Regions from separate parts of the Homo sapiens genome. Here region 1 is linked to region 2. Evidence: promoter capture Hi-C in human tissues and cell types (Jung and others, 2019). All regions are on one chromosome and are shown on one strand. The core of a region is centred on a gene start or on the middle of the fragment in contact, and the rest is flanking DNA. Distances in the headings are between cores, read along the strand shown. Region 1 has its middle 15 kb from the start of GFI1B. Region 2 holds the start of AK8 (adenylate kinase 8).

The links. Contacts are between HindIII fragments. The study calls those that stand out against the background at their distance.
Region 1: a contact is called between a fragment that was not itself captured here and the fragment with the promoter of AK8 in region 2, in 9 of the 25 tissues and cell types used here (H1 embryonic stem cells, bladder, heart left ventricle and 6 more).

What each region holds. Positions count from the first base shown.
Region 1 is chr9:132,959,793-132,967,533 of GRCh38, forward strand. It overlaps a transcript of GFI1B not described here, the pseudogene RPL39P24 and the pseudogene RNU7-21P. Among named protein-coding and RNA genes, the nearest start is that of GFI1B, 15 kb to the right of the region's middle. The HindIII fragment of the contact is 7,856 bases long and covers 1-5,457 here.
Region 2 is chr9:132,875,592-132,883,282 of GRCh38, forward strand. It overlaps AK8 (adenylate kinase 8), which reads right to left and starts at 2,693. Exons shown (of 13, transcript NM_152572.3): 1 at 2,581-2,693. The coding sequence starts at 2,664. SPACA9 (sperm acrosome associated 9) reads left to right here and starts at 3,307. Exons shown (of 4, transcript NM_001316897.2): 1 at 3,307-3,423. The HindIII fragment of the contact is 8,008 bases long and covers 599-7,691 here.

The DNA of each region.
Region 1 (7,741 bases), core at 280-2,779, 83 kb after region 2:
CGTCAGCCCAGTCTCTGCCTCCATCTTCATGCAGGCTTCTCCTCTGTGTCCCTCTGTGTTTGCTCCTCTTCTTATGAGACCCCAGGCATTGTATTTAAAGCCCACCTCAACCCAGTGTGAATTCAGCTGAACCGAACTTCATCTTCAAAGACTCCCTTTCCAAATAAAGTCACGTTCTGCGGTTCCAGGTAGACATGAATTGGGATGAGGAGATAATTCAGTCCCCTATACCTGCTGGCAAGGAGCATGGACCCAGCAGATGACATGGGAAAGACTGATCCTACTCTGCTCAAGGCCAGGTCCAGCCCAGAACCACCCTACAAAGTGCTGCAGGAGAAAGACGTCAAAATTAGAGTGATGAGGGCAACTTACTGGTGAGGGTGAGACTTGAACTTTGCTTCTGGTTTCATCAAGAATTTGATCAATGGTGATGGAGCAGATGGGCTTTACGACAGTAGGACCCAGCTTGAGCAGAAGCAGGGAAGCAAGACCACAGAAGGCTTGCTTGCTTTATAAATGGTCAGGTGTAGGGAATAGGAGGCAAGAAAAGTCATGTATGAAGGACCCTGGGCTAAATAAGCAGCCTGGGCTATATCTGTAGGCAACGCAGAACCCCTGGAAGTTTGTGAGTTCAGGAAAGAAGGAAAGAGCTGTCTGTGGAATGTTGTCAAAGGCTTCATCTTGACATTGATGCCTGCCAATTTTATTTATTTATGTATTTATTGAGACAGGATCTCGCTTTGTCCCTGCTTGGAGTACAGTGGTGCGATCATAGCTCACTACAGCCTCGAGCTCCTGGGCTCAAGTGGTCCTCCCAACTCAGCCTCCCAAAGAGCTGGGAATATGGGCATGTACCACTACACCCGGATACTTTTTTTATTTTTATTTTTTTAGAGATTGGGCCTAACTATGTTTCCCAGGCTGGTTTCGAAGTCCTGGTCTCAAGAGATCCTCCCACCTCAGTCTCCCAAAACATTAGGGTTACAAGCATGAGCCACCGAGCCTGGCTCAATTAAAATTTAAAATTCTGGGTGTTTTGTCTTCTTGGGTAGGCCACCTCCTCTCTCAAATCCCTGATCACGCCTCTACACACCCCCAGCAATAAATTGTGCCGGGCCACACTCCGCAGCGTGTTGGATGTTAAAGAGTTTCATGGTCACCGTGAGACCATTTCTCAGTCCCCCAAGCAGCAGCATTCACAGCTAGAGGTTTTATTTTAGCTGCGCCTCCCCTGAAGCATATGCAGTGACCATTTGGAAAAAGATAAAGTTAGATCCCTCTCCACACCCTACACCAGAATAAACTTTAAGTGTCAAAAGTGAAATCATACGAGTGCAAGAAGAAAACATGAGTGAATTCTGTGTAATCAGGAGTGAAGAAAACCTTTCTAAAAATGGCTGAACAGTCAGAAACAATAGAAGACCGATAAGTTAGGCGACCTCAAAAAACCAAAGCAAAACAAAACAAAACAAAAACCTTTTCCATGGTAAGAAGAAAGCAAGCAGAGCAAAGTCAGAAGATAAATGATAGACGGAGAGAAAACTTTTGCAACTTATATCACAAACGGCCTCTCTAATATACACAGAACTATTATATCACAGTCTTAATTGTGAAAAGTCAATTATTTGACAAAAAAAAAAAACAACAGAAAAAAGGCATAAATGGAAAGTTTTCAGAAAAATGTAAGTGACCCTAAGAAGTATGAAAAGACAGCCTCACTCAACATAAAGGAAACACAAATTAAAACTACCCTGGGATGCCCTTCCTCCTGTCCTATCAGATTGGCAAAATACCTCTCATTTTTTTTTTTTTTTTTTGAGACGGAGTCTCGCTCTGTCGCCCAGGCTGGAGTGCAGTGGTGCAATCTTGGCTCACTGCAAGCTCTGCCTCCCGGGTTCACGCCATCCTCCTGCCTCAGCCTCCCCAGTAGCTGGGACTACAGGTGCCCGCCACCACACCTGGCCAATTTTTTGTGTTTTTAATAGAGACAGGGTTTCACCATGTTAGCCAGGATGGTCTCGATCTCCTGACCTCGTGATCTGCCTGCCTCAGCCTCCCAAAGTGCTGGGATTACAGGTGAGAGCCACCGCACCCGGCCAAAATTCCCCAAATTTGACAACCCACCTTGCTGGCAAGGCTGTGGGAACAAATCTACACTTCTGGGAGTGGGAGGACAGGACTGCACACCCTCTCTAGACAGGAATTTGGCCATATCTAAGGCCATAATGTGTGCATTCTTTCTTTGCTATGCATCTTCCCTACACACCTACACTCTACACACACACACACACACACACACAACCCTACACTCACACATGTGTGCATACAGAATTGTTTTTTTTTTCTTTTTTTTTTTTTCTTTTGAGACAGAATCTCACTCTGTCACACAGGCTGGAGTACAGTGGTACCATCTCAGCTTTCTGCAACCTCCACCTCCTGAGTTCAAGCAGTTCTCGTGGCTAAGCCTCCCAAGTAGCTGGGGCCACAGATGCGAGCCACCATGCCTGGCTAATTATTTGTATTTTTAGTGGAGACAGGGTTTCACCATGTTAGCCAGGCTGGTCTCAAACTCCTGACCTCAGGTGATCCGCTCACCTCAGCCTTCCAGAGTGCGGGATTACAAGTGTGAGCCTCCTCTCCTGGCCCATAAAAGATTCTTTCTTCTCTCTCTCTTCCCTTCTCTGCTATCGTGGTGTGTGTTTGACTCTGCTTCTCGCCATGTCTTCTCACAAGACTTTGAGGATTAAGTGATTCCTGGCCAAGAAACAAAAGCAAAAATCATCCCATTTCCCAGTGGAATCAGATGAAAACTGGTAATCAAATTAGGTACAACTCCAAAAGGAGATATTGAAGAAGAACCAAGCTGGGTCTATAAGGAATTACACATGAGATGACACACATATTATGTTCTATCAAGGTCACCATCATCACCATATCAAGCTGAAAATGTCACCATATCTGGACAGTTTGACATGTTTTATTAGGAATACATTTTTGACAAGGCGCAATGGCTCACGCCTGTAATCCCACTAATTTGGGAGGCCAAGGCGGGTGGATCACTTGAGGTCAGGAGTTTGAGGCCAGCCTAGCCAACGTGGTGAAAACCCATCTCTACTAAAAATACAAAAAAAAAAAAAAAAATAGCCAGGCGTGGTGGCACCAGCCTGCAGTCCCAGCTAATTGGGAGGCTGAGGCAGGAGAATCTCTTAAACCCAGGAGACAGAGGTTGCAATGAGCTGATATGGCGCCACTGCGCTCCAGCCTGGGCAACAGAGTGAGACTCCATCTCAAAAAAAAAAAAAAAAAAAAAAAGGAATCTATTTTTTCTCTTTGTTTACATGTTGTACACTAGTAGGCTGGGTTCAGTATTACATATATGGGAACTTTCATTTCAAAAAAATATTATTGGTCAGGCGTGGTGGCTCATGCCTGTAATCCCAGCACTTTGGGAGGCTGAGGCGGGCAGATCACGAGGTCAAGAGTTCAAGACCAGCCTGGCCAACGTGGTGAAACCCCATCTCTACTAAAAATACAAAAATTAGTGGCATGTTGTGGCACGCACTTGTAGTCCCAGCTACCCAGGAGGCGAAGGCAGAATAATCTCTTGAACCTGGGAGGCGGAGGTTGCAGTGAGCTAAAATCACGCCAGATGCATTCCAGTCTGGGCGACAGAGACAGATTCCGTCTCAAAAAAATTATTATTATTATTATTGTTATTATTATTTTCCCTTGAGATGGAGTCTTGCTGTCATCCAGGCTGGAGTGCAGTGGCGTGATCTCGAACTCCTGATCTCAGGTGATCCAGCCACCTTAGCCTCCCAAAGTGCTAGGATTACAGGTGTGAGCCACTGCACCCGGCCAAAAAAATATTTCTTATGGCATTATCTGCAAAAGTTGAATATTGGAGACAACCCAAATGTCAATTAATAGGGGACTGATTAGTGTTACAGTTCTTTTAGAATTTGTCTAGCAGGCTTTCTGGTTTTTGCCCAAAAGCCTCTCAAAAAAGTTTAAAAAAGAAAAAAAATAGGGGACTGATTGAATAAACTATGGCGCAGTAAGATGCAGAGATAAAAATGCGAATTTTGTCAAGAACCAAGATTTCCAATGTAAGAGAAAAGAGACACAAATATAAAATCAAGTATTTTTAAAAACCTATAATGCAGGCTGGGCATGGGTGGCTCACACCTGTAATCCCAGCACTTTGGGAGGCCAAGGTGGGAAGATCACCTGAGGTCAGGAGTTCAAGACCAGCCTGGCCAACATGGTGAAACCCCATCTCTACTAAAAATACAAAATTAGCTGGGCATGGTGATGCACGCCTGTAATCCCAGCTACTTGGGAGGCTGAGGCAGGAAAATCGCTTGAACCTGGGAGGTGGAGGTTGCAGTGAGCCGAGACCACGCCATTGCACTCCAGCCTGGGCAACAAAAGCAAAACTCCATCTCTAAATAAATAAATTAATTAAATAAAAACCTATAATGCTGAGAAATTACTTAACGGGTACAATATACACTATCTGGTGATGGATACACTAAAATACCAGACTTCACTACTATGCAATCTATGCATATAACAAAACGGCTCTTGGACCCCTTCACTGTATACAAACAAAACCCAGTAATGCTAAATTCAAACTGAGAATATCAATAGGAACTTGTGAAAATTGTCTGAATCAATTTTCAGCCACTTGTATTAAAAACCCTGACAAGAAGAGCCGGGGAAGGCCATGACGGGCGGGTTCTCATGCATCAATGCCTGGTCACAATCACTATCGCAAAAGATTTTGCAAAAACCACAACCTTGCACAAAGGCCGTCACAATTCTACACACACAAAAATACTTCTGTGAGGACATCTGCCCAGCAACTGCCTGTCCAGTCTTGAACTGTGCTACCCTTGTTACTGATCCTTGTAGCCAAGGATGATTATCTCAAAACAATTTTTCTTCCTTTTTTTTTTTTTTTTTTTTTTTTTTTTGATGGAGTTCCAGGCTGGAGTGCAGTGGCGTGATCTCGGCTCATTGCAACTTCTGCCTCCTGGTTTCAAGCGAGTCTCCGGCCTCAGCCTTCCGTGTAGCTGGGATTATAGGCACCTGACACCATGCCCGGCTAATTTTTGTATTTTTAGTAGAGATGGGGTTTCGCCATGTTGGCCAGGCTGGTCCTCATTTTTTCTTTAAAAACTTTTGCCTTCCTTTACCTCCCAGAATATGTACATATCAATAATTTACTATGGCCCCCATATTCCCATTGCAATGCCTATACCTGAATAAACATTATTTTCTTCTAGAGAGTCTTTCTCTCTGTTTGTTGTTTAGATTGACAAAGTCATAATTACAAAAATAAATTAAAAAGCATCGATTTCCTAGTTCTGAACACTGAAACAGCTTAGAGGCAGGTGCCCAGTAACAAGAACTCCTGGCCATGGCTTTAGATCCCAGCCCTCACTAAATAGAACTAGGCTGAAAGAACTGGCTGCTTCCAGAAATGCAGCAGGGGAAGTACAAGTGGGTCACCTTCTTGTGTTAGAAAGCAAGGACATGCTCGAAGATTGATTCGGAAATGTCAGACCCATACAGAAACTAACCTGGATGTGCTGTTCGTGACAAAATTTGAGGAAACCGTAGTGGGTTGAATAGTGGCCCCCTAAAAAGATAGGTCCAAATCCTAACACTCAGTACCTGTGAATGTGACCGTATTTGGGAAAAAGGTCTGTGCAGATGTAATTAATGATCTCAAAATGAGACCATCTTGGATTAGCCGGCTGGGTTCTAATCCAATGTCCTGTGTCCTTGTATAAGACAGAAGCAGGACGGACATAGACACGGAGTGGGAGGCCCCATGAAGGCAGAGGCAGAGATTGGAGTGGCGCAGCTCCAGGCCAAGGAATGCCAAAGATTGCCCGCAGCCAGCAGGCACTGGGAGAGAGGCCTGGGTCAGGTCATCCCTCGGAGACTCCAGAAGGAACCAATCCTGCCGACACCTTGATTTCCGACTTCCAGCCTCCAGAATTGACAGGCAAGAAATTTCTGTTGTTTTAAGCCACCCAACATGTAATTGCTATAGTGTCCACAGGAGCCATAAAATAGAATTTCTGCAATTTAATGTAAAATGTTGAATAAATAAAAATCCATGAGTTCTGGCACATGTTTACCTATGTAACAAACCTGCATTTCCTACACATGTATCCTGGAACTTAAAATTAAATTAAATTATTAAAAAAATCCATGAGTTCACAGCGATGCTGAAGTTTAAGGGGGAAAAGAGAATGGACAACAAAAATAGGCCAGGCACAGTGGCTCACGCCTGCTTTCTCAGCACTTGAGAGGTCAAGGCAGGAGAACCGCTGGTGTTCAGGAGTTTGAGACCAGCCTGGGAAACATAGTGAGACCCCATCTCTACAAGAAATAAAAAAATTGGTCAGGTGTGGTGGCGCGTACCTATAGTTCCAGCTCCTCAGGGGGCTGAGGTGGGAGAATCACTTGAGCCCCAGGAGTTGAGGCTACAGTGAGCCATGATCACACCACTGCACTTCAGCCTAGGCAACAAAGTGAGATCCTATCTCAAAAAGAAAAAAAAAAAGAAAAGAACAAGAACAAGAAAAAAGAAGAAAAAATCCCAGTTACATCACCTTGCTATGAACATCAGCAATTAAGGAGAGAAGACAAATCACTTACACTCTCATTTTTTAGAACTGTGGTTCATCCCCAGCTAATGAGAGAAAGCTCTTCTTTACAGATAATAAATGTAGAAGGAATGATAGAATTGGAAGAATAATAGTTTTGAAGCCACCAGTGATGTAATTGATTATAGCAAGGAGCTGCCATGGATGCTGAAACCAGTAGGGGAGACTGTGGAGAACAGGATGTTTGCTTGGCGACAAAGTCCTAACCTGCAGATTGCTTCTTAATTCAGTTATGATGGAGAGAACTGGGTGTCACCATTTTAACCAAACTCAGCATCACTAAGGTGGGACAACCTACTGTTAGATGCCTCCTGATGCAGTGAAGCCCACAGCGTCACCTGTGAAGTATCCGTGCCTAAAACATCTCATCTGAATCCAACCAAGCCTAGGACCTGACTTCCAGGACACAGTGAGGTCTTGAAAATAATGTTTATTCAGGAATAGGCATTGCCATGGGAATATGGGTTCCAAGACACAGAGTGCTAGGGTTTAGATGTCCTCTCCAAAACTCATTTTGAAATTAATTGTCATTGGGAAGGAATTAAGAGCCAGGGCCTTTGACAGGTGATTCGGTCATGCCCTCATCAGTAGATTAATGCTGTTACCATGGAGAGAATTAGTTCTTTGGGGAGGGAAGTTCAGCCCCCACCTGTACTCTCTCTGTCTTCGGTGCTTGCCTGCCCTTCTGCCTTTCTCCATGGAGTAATGCAGCACAAAAGCCCTCACCAGATGTGGCCCCTCAATCTTCCCAGCCTCCAGAACTGTGAGCCAAATAAATCTTTTCTTTATAAGTGACCCAGTCTGTGGCATTCTGTTATAGCAGCAGAAAATGGACTAAGACACAGCAGGTGGAGGAAGAGGTTAAATGGCACCATGACAAAACAATGAGAAAATCCCAAATGCTGAACCTTCTACTGGACTGGCCTGGGCTCTTTTAGGGGGAAAAAATCATTACGAAAAGAAAGGGGCAGGGGGTGCTCTTCCATCATAAAGGAAGCTAAAGACATAATACACTCATGCAATGCTTGCAACTTGTCTGGATCCTGATTCTAAAA
Region 2 (7,691 bases), core at 1,443-3,942:
CTGGCTAACTTCTGCTCAGTCTCAGATCTCAATGGGAACATACCTTCCTGAGTATGTGCACTACGTAAATATGTCAGATGCTCCTGCACCTGCCTGCGGGCATCGCCCTGTTCCACGCCTCACCCTGTCCCTACTCACCAGGCCACCATCCCCCCGGCAGGCCATGGGTTCTGTGGGCCTCCTTGTCTGCCTAGAGCCCTTGGCACCCCAATACCTGGCAGTCATAGCAGATGCCCAGCGCAGATGTTTGCTGGGGAACATGACCGTCACCACTAACTGTGTCTCTCCAGAATGGAACAGAATGTTACCAGCCAGATTTCTAAATAGTCCTGGGATATTCTGGCCATTTCATCCAATCAGGCAAGCATATCAAGAGAAAGCAGCTTCTGGGGTTGCAGAACCCTAGGCAGAGAAATGAGGAGGAGCTCATAGCAGCTGTGCTGCTGCAATAAGGGGTATCCTTGAGCCCCAGGGACAAGGAGGGAGGGGCTGTAGCCCTCTTGGAGTGAAGGGAGTGTGGGGCAGGGAAAGAGCACCGAGCCATGAGAAGTCTTGGTTCCAGCCCCACTGTATCTCATCAGCAAGTCCCTTCCCTTCTCTGGGCCTCAGCTTCTCTGCCTGTTCAGTAGCACAGCTGGAGTGAATTCATGTTTGTATGTCACTGGTGCGATGATGGAATGAGATGATTTTAGATGGTTCACACATAAATATTTTACATTTCATGTTTAAATCATTGTGTATTTAACGTGTATTAGAAATATAAGTACATCAAATCAATAATTTCAAGGATATCACTTAGGATGAGGCAAAAGCGGCTATTTAATTTTTTAAAAGGTGAGTTGATTTAAACAAGTGATTAGTTTAAATGGAGGTGCAGTAGCGGTTATGCAAATCTGTACATGTGATACAACTGCACAGAACTGTATGCACAACAAAAACATCAATGCAGGTAAAAATGGAGGAAATCCAAACAAGGCCTACAGTTCAGGTAATCCTATTGTACCAATGCCAGTTTCCTGGTTTTGACAATGTGCTACAGTTATGTTAGATGTTATCACGGGGGCAATGTGGGAGGGGAGACCAGAAATCCATACTATTTTTTAACTTCCTGTGAATCTAACATTATTTTAAAATCAAAAGTATAAAAAATGGAAATGGTCAAAAACATGGAGGGAATCCACAGATGACTAAGGACTGGAAATACTGGACTGAAAGCTTTCTTGTTGGGAGGCCGAGGCAGAAGGACTGTTTGAGCCCAGGAGTTCAAGACCAGTCCGGGCAACATAGCAAGACCTCGTCTGTACTAAAATTAAAAAAAAAACATTAGCCAGGTATGGTGGCCTGCACCTGTAGTCTCGGCTACTCTGGAGGGACTAAGGCAGAAGGATTGCTTGAGCCCAGGAGTTCAAGGCTGCAGTAAGCCATGATTGTATCACTGCACTCCAGCCTGGGCAGCAGTGCAAGACCCTGTTTCAAAATCAATAAAAGCTTTCCTGGGCAATTCCTCCAACAATCAATGTGGAAAACACACCAGGTTCTCTAGAGCAGACAACAGGGCTCCAGATGATCCCCCATCCTGCCCTGACCTGCTGACTTCTAACCCAGCTAGCTATTTGATTTGTGATTGGCCACTCAAGCAGTTTTAGGAATCTCTTGCTCTCCCTCTATCAGTTAACACTTTCCGAGGGAAATGTGTTTGATGGAGGTGCAGACACGGGTTTCTTCGTCTGGGCTCAGCTGTCTAGTGTGCAGGGCAGAACCTCAAATGACCACAGACACCACTATGCCCTCCATGCCATGCCCCTGGGGATGGGGTGTACCCTGGGAAGCAGACAAATGATCTGAAAACTGAGCTCCAGCTTCCCCTTGCCTCTCAGAACCTTTGAGTGGCTGAGAGTTCTTCCCCTCCAGCTCCTGAAAGCCTTGACCTCCACCACGTGCAAAAGGGAAAACTGGGGCCCTGGCGGGGACGGGGCCTCGCCCAAAGTCACACGGTGAGCTGGGGGCCCAGTCAGGCCTGGAGCCAGAATGAGAGCTTCGGAGCTGCCGGGGACGTCTGGCCCTGAGGAGGAGGGACCAAGGTGGGAGATGCTGCTGTCCCAGAGGCGGCCCTCTCTGAGGATGGAGATGCCAGCTTGAACTCGGACAATGCCCACCTCAGAAACCTGGGCCGAGAGGCTCCCCACAAATTCGACAGATGGTAATTGTCAGCGCCGGGAGAGCCCCTGGGAGACCACCTCTTGCAACCTGGCATTTCACAGGTGGGGAAACCGAGAAAAGGAAAGGACTGGTTCCAGACCATAAGGCCCGCTGGCGGCACAGCCAGGACCAAATCCCGGCTCGAGTGGCCCCCTTCCTCCCCCTGGGTCCGCCTGAGGCAAACCCGGGCAGGACCAGGAGCGTCCCCAGCTCGAGGGCCCCCTCGGGGTCACGGCGACACACGAATCGTACATCCCGAGTTGGGCTGCTTCGTGGGCGCGCGACTCGGCCCCAGCTGCGGGTCCCGGCCGCGCACCCGACGTCGCAGTGGAGGCTCCCGAGCCGCCGCCAGCGTCGCGACGGGCAGGGGTGTCCGGTCACCTGCATCAACTCGAAGATGTGGTTCTCCTCCCCGTACTGGGGCATCTCGGGGGGGATACGGTGCGGGGCGATAGTGGCGTCCATGTAGCCGTCTCGGCTCGCCGCTCCCTAGTAACCGCGTCGCTAGGGCCGCCGCGCCGACTGCGTCATCAGCACGCGCCGCGGCCCCGCCCTGCAGGCTCCGCGCCGGGCCCAGATACCCGATCCTCGGTCGCGCGGGTCGCCCCCGCCCCGACCTCCCCGGCTGACGCGCTCTGCGGCTCGGGCAAGTTCTTTCCCCAACCCCGGCCTCGCTTTTCCCATTTGCGCATCTTAGCGGGGGACACCCTCAGGTGGCTTCCAGCTGGGCCTCCTCGTATCTGAGACCCCCGACGAAACCCAGAAGGGGCAAGTCGGCCCTCCGAGGGGACGGGAGGCAGAACCTGCTTCTGGTTCTGTCAGTGCTCCCCGGCCCGGCTCCCTGTGCCTCAGTTTACCCATCTTTAAAACAGACGCGGGAATAAATGTGGGGGAGGGTGTTTGAAGGGGGAGGGGCGTCCATGAGATGGGCCGGAGGTTCGAGGATCGGGTGGAAATCCTCAGCCCAACTCCTAGAGTCGAGCCCCGGTAGACCCCTCCCAGCTCCCCGGCTCTGGCCAAGCCGCCAAGTGACCCGATTGCTATGGCACCGGCGGTAACAATCACGCCCGCGGCCCCGCCCCTTCTCGCCCGACGTCCCCACCCACCCTCGCCTCCCAAGTCCTGGAACGGGCCTCCCCACCCTCCGGGGCACCGACACTCACGGAGTCACTCCAACTTCTCTGGGTGCTCCGTGGAGCGAAGAGCGCTCTAGGACAAGCAAGGGTAAACAGGGATGAGTGTGGGTGGGCCCACTCGGACCCCACCCCGGCCTCTGGGTCAGAAACTGGAAGCTGGGGTGGAGGATGGAAAGATGGAGGGGTCCGGAGGATGGAGGGGCCTGCACAGCTGTCTCGGGGTGGGGGCGAGGGGAAGGTTCGCGCTGGAGACGGAGCTTTTTAAGTCGTATGAATTCCCAGTGGTACGGGGCAGCTTGATATTTTATTAGTCGCAACACTGAATTGGGATCTCTAGCTCTTGTCTGTTGCCGTTAATCGTAGGAGCTGTAAGAGTTTGTTGAACTCTTTGTGCTCTCGGCAAAATTCTGTTGTCTCTGTACCTTATGGAGAGGGAAAATGGCACAGTCAATGCAGACAGCCCCAGCTTCAAGTTCTGGCTCCGCTTCTTACTGTGTGAGCTTGGCAAACTCTCTGCTTGCTCCGTGCCTCACTTTCCTGCCCTGTGAAGAGGGAACTGCTGAAGGATTTCAGGAGCTAATGTATTGGAGAGTAATTGGCATGCAGTAAGCACACAATATATGGGGCTACTATTAGTAGTAGTATCTCATTTAATCGTTCCAACAATCCTGTGAAATAGGCACCTTCATTCCCATTTTACAGATGAGAAGTTGGAGGATTAGAACAATGAGGAGTGGTTGGCTGGGTAACTTTGGGTGAGTCACTTCCCCTTTCTGGGCTTCTTTTCTCATCAGTTGTTGATCATACAGCCTTAGAACCAGAAGGCCTCTTGAAGAAGAGGCTAATCCAAACTCTCTCATTTGACAGATGGATAAACTGAGGCCCAGAAAAGGGGGAAATCTTGGCTAGGGCCACTGGTTAGATTGGGCAGAGCCAGGGCATGAACTCTGCATCCAGGCTCCAGCTAAAGCCCTTTTCTACCAGCCATCAGCCCAGAGACATGCCCTCCCAACGTAAAAGCCAGCACTGTTGCCTCTTCCCCTCCAAACCGCTTCCTCAAAGTGTGTACACCTTGGTAGGCTTGTCAAACCCAACTGTAAAGATAGCTGGGGAAGAAAAGGAAGCTGCCTCCCCCTGAGCAAAGAACACAACAGCCATGCCTGCCATTTGCACTGGAGAGGTTTGTTTTGCTTCCTGGACATTTCTGAAATGACTTGCCTTTCTCCTCATTTATTTTAAGCCCTAGGCGCTTTTCCTACCATGATTCAATCTTCTTTAGCAGCCTGGAAAAATACAAATCAATTAAAGCCTAAAACCTATGGGTAATCATTTTTTTCCTCCCTCCTCCCCCAGATCGAGAAGTGCCCGTCCCCTGTGCCCTTCATCCACACTAATTTGGCTGCAGTGGCTCTCGTTCAAGGGACGATCACTTCGGATAGCTTATTACAGCTCCTCTCATGACATTCCTGGCGTGCATGTCACAAGTTGCTAGGATCAAGAACAGAGTCAGTTCCTCTCAACCACTACCAACCACAGCTCCCACCATGATGAGGGAAAAGCCAGGCCGAAAGGGCACACGCCCTTTCTCCCTGGAACTCCACCTATGTGCTCTCTCTCACTTTTCTGGAGCTTCACCTTTGAGTCATTTGTAAGCCCTGGGCCAACATTAGGGCAAGGCAAGTGATGCACCCTCAGCACAAAACTTAAGGGAGTGCCGGCAATTCAATCATTGAGGTGGATGTTTTTCACGTTTTAATGCAATATATTTTAAAAATCAAAAATAATGCTGCCTAAAATCCATTTAGAATAACATGTCAAAAATTTAAGTAAAGGTAGGCTCAGTGTTACTGATTTCTCCTTTTGCCTCAGGCCTCAGTATGGCAAGGTGCAGCTATCTTTTTTTTTTTTTTTTTTGAGATGGAGTCTTGCTCTGTCGCCCAGGCTGGAGTGCAGTGGCGCCATCTCGGCTCACTGCAAGCTCCGCCTCCCAGGTTCACGCCATTCTCCTGCCTCAGCCTCCCGAGTAGCTGGGACTACAGGCGCCCGCCACCGTGCCCGGCTAACTTTTTTTGTATTTTTATTACAGACAGGGTTTCACCGTGTTGGCCAGGATGGTCTCAATCTCCTGACTTCGTGATCCACCCACCTCGGCCTCCCAAAGTGCTGGGATTACAGGCGTGAGCTACCGCGCCCAGCCAGCAATCTTTTCTTTACAAATTCTGATGTTGCCAGCTCATGCTTCTAATCCCAGCACATTGGGAGGCTGAGGTGGGAGGATCGCTGGAGCCCAGGAGTTCGAGACCAGCCTGAGCAACATAGGGAGACCCCATCTCTACAAAAAAAAAGAAAAAAAAAAAAGAAAAAAAAGAAGAAAAAAAAAAAAAGAAAAAAGGTAGTCAGGCATGGTGGCACATACCTGAGGTCCCAGCTACTCAAGAGGCTGAGGCGGGAGGATCACTTGAGCCCAGGAGGTCAAGATTGCAGTGAGTCGTGATCACAGCACCACACTCCAGCCTGGGTGAAAGAGCAAGACCCATTCTTTAAAAAACGTTTTTGGGGCTGGGTACAGTGGCTCATGCCTATCATCCCAGCACTTTCGGAGGCTGAGAAAGGGAGATCACTTGAGGCCAGGAGTTCAAGACCAGCCTAGCTGACGTGGTGAAATTCCATCTCTACTAAAAATACAAAAAATAGCCAGGTGTAGTGGCACCCACCTGTAATCCCAGCTACTCAAGATGCTTTTTTTTTTTTTTGAGACAGGGTCTCACTGTGTCACCCAGGTTGGAGTGCAGTACTGCGATCATGGCTCACTGCAGCCTTGACCTCCTGGGTTCAAGCGATCCTCCTGCCTCAGCCTCCCAAAGTGCTGGGATTATAGGCATGAGCCACTGTGCCTGGCCTATTTTCATCTTGATTGCCGAGTTTTTTGGCGCCTCCTTAAGTTTTGCATGGGGGCAAGTGTCTCCCTCACCTCACCCTAGTTGGTCCTGGGTGAGCCGGACACCACGGGAGGCACAACAGGAAACCACTGTGCGTGAGTCAGCATGTCTGCTCCATGTGGCAGGGACCAGCCAAGGATATGGCAGGTGTCAATAAACCATGGACCCCCCATCTCATTCCCCACCTTCAGCTCTCCTTTCCATAGGAGGTTGAGCTGGAAAGAGGCCCCTGCCCTGCCTGCCCTGGCCCAGGCCCACCCCCAGGGCAGCTGCGACTGTCCCTGTGTCTGTTGACAGTCACAGTGCTGTGGCTCTGCTGCAGAAGCATACTCTCTTGTCTTTCCAGGAGACTCACTCAGTGGCTCTTAAGGTGGCTCCTCTAAGGCAGCCTTGCTGGCTTTTGGCTCCAGGGATAGAGGCTCCATGGCTGGGCTCCATCTTGCTAAAGGGCCTCTTCCCCAGCCTCCTCCAAGTGCTCTGATGTACCACCCCCATCATCTCGCGGAGGCCATCTCCTGGTCTGTTCTTGTGTTTCCTTTCATTCCTCTGATGCCATCTCTTCTTGCATCAACTGGGATGCTCCCCCTACCCTGCCTCTTTTTTTTTTTTTTTTTTGAGTCAGGGTCTCCCTGTGTCCTAGGCTGGAGTGCAGTACTGCGATCATGGCTCACTGGAGCCTTGACCTCCTGGGTTCAAACTGGACCCCCAGCTCCAGCCCTGCTCTGGACACAGCAGAAAGAAATATTTCCCAGCCCCGTCTTGTTATTCCTATCCACCTGGGACCTGCTTGGAAGCTTGGAATGTGCCTTCCCTGCCCCAGTCCATGCTAAATGTTCTGGCCCCTTCCATCTCCAACATCTCCCTTGGACTGGACCTGAGCTCAGCACAGCCTTCTCTGACCCCTGCTCATGTGGTGACACGTTCGAGCCTGGCCTTTGTTCTGGAGGCAGTGGAGGGGCAGCCGAGTGTGGCAGCACTGACGATGCTGGTTAGACGTAAGGAAGCCTAGGACCCAGGGTGTCTTGGGCACAAATTTGCTGTGACACCCTGGGCAAAACCTTTCCCTCTGAGCCTCACTTTCCCCATAGCAGCTCAAGGGAGCTGGTTTTCTCAGTCCCTTCCAGCTCTAACATGAATAGAAATCTGTGGTCTGGAGCATTTTGCACGCGCTCAGCAAAACTGTGATGTCATGGAGCACACACCCACAGACTTTTCTGCTCACAGGAGGATTGTAGATGCTCTGTGGAGCACCTAAATCACAGCAGGGACAGTCTGTGAGGCGCCAAGAGAGAGTCCTCCCCACAGCCTCCATGTTACTGATCATGGCATTCCAGCAATTAACAGGGTCAGGGGGCAGTCCACTAGCCACCAGCCCTGCCCTGAGAATGCGCAAACCTGAGACCAAGGCTCCTGCCCC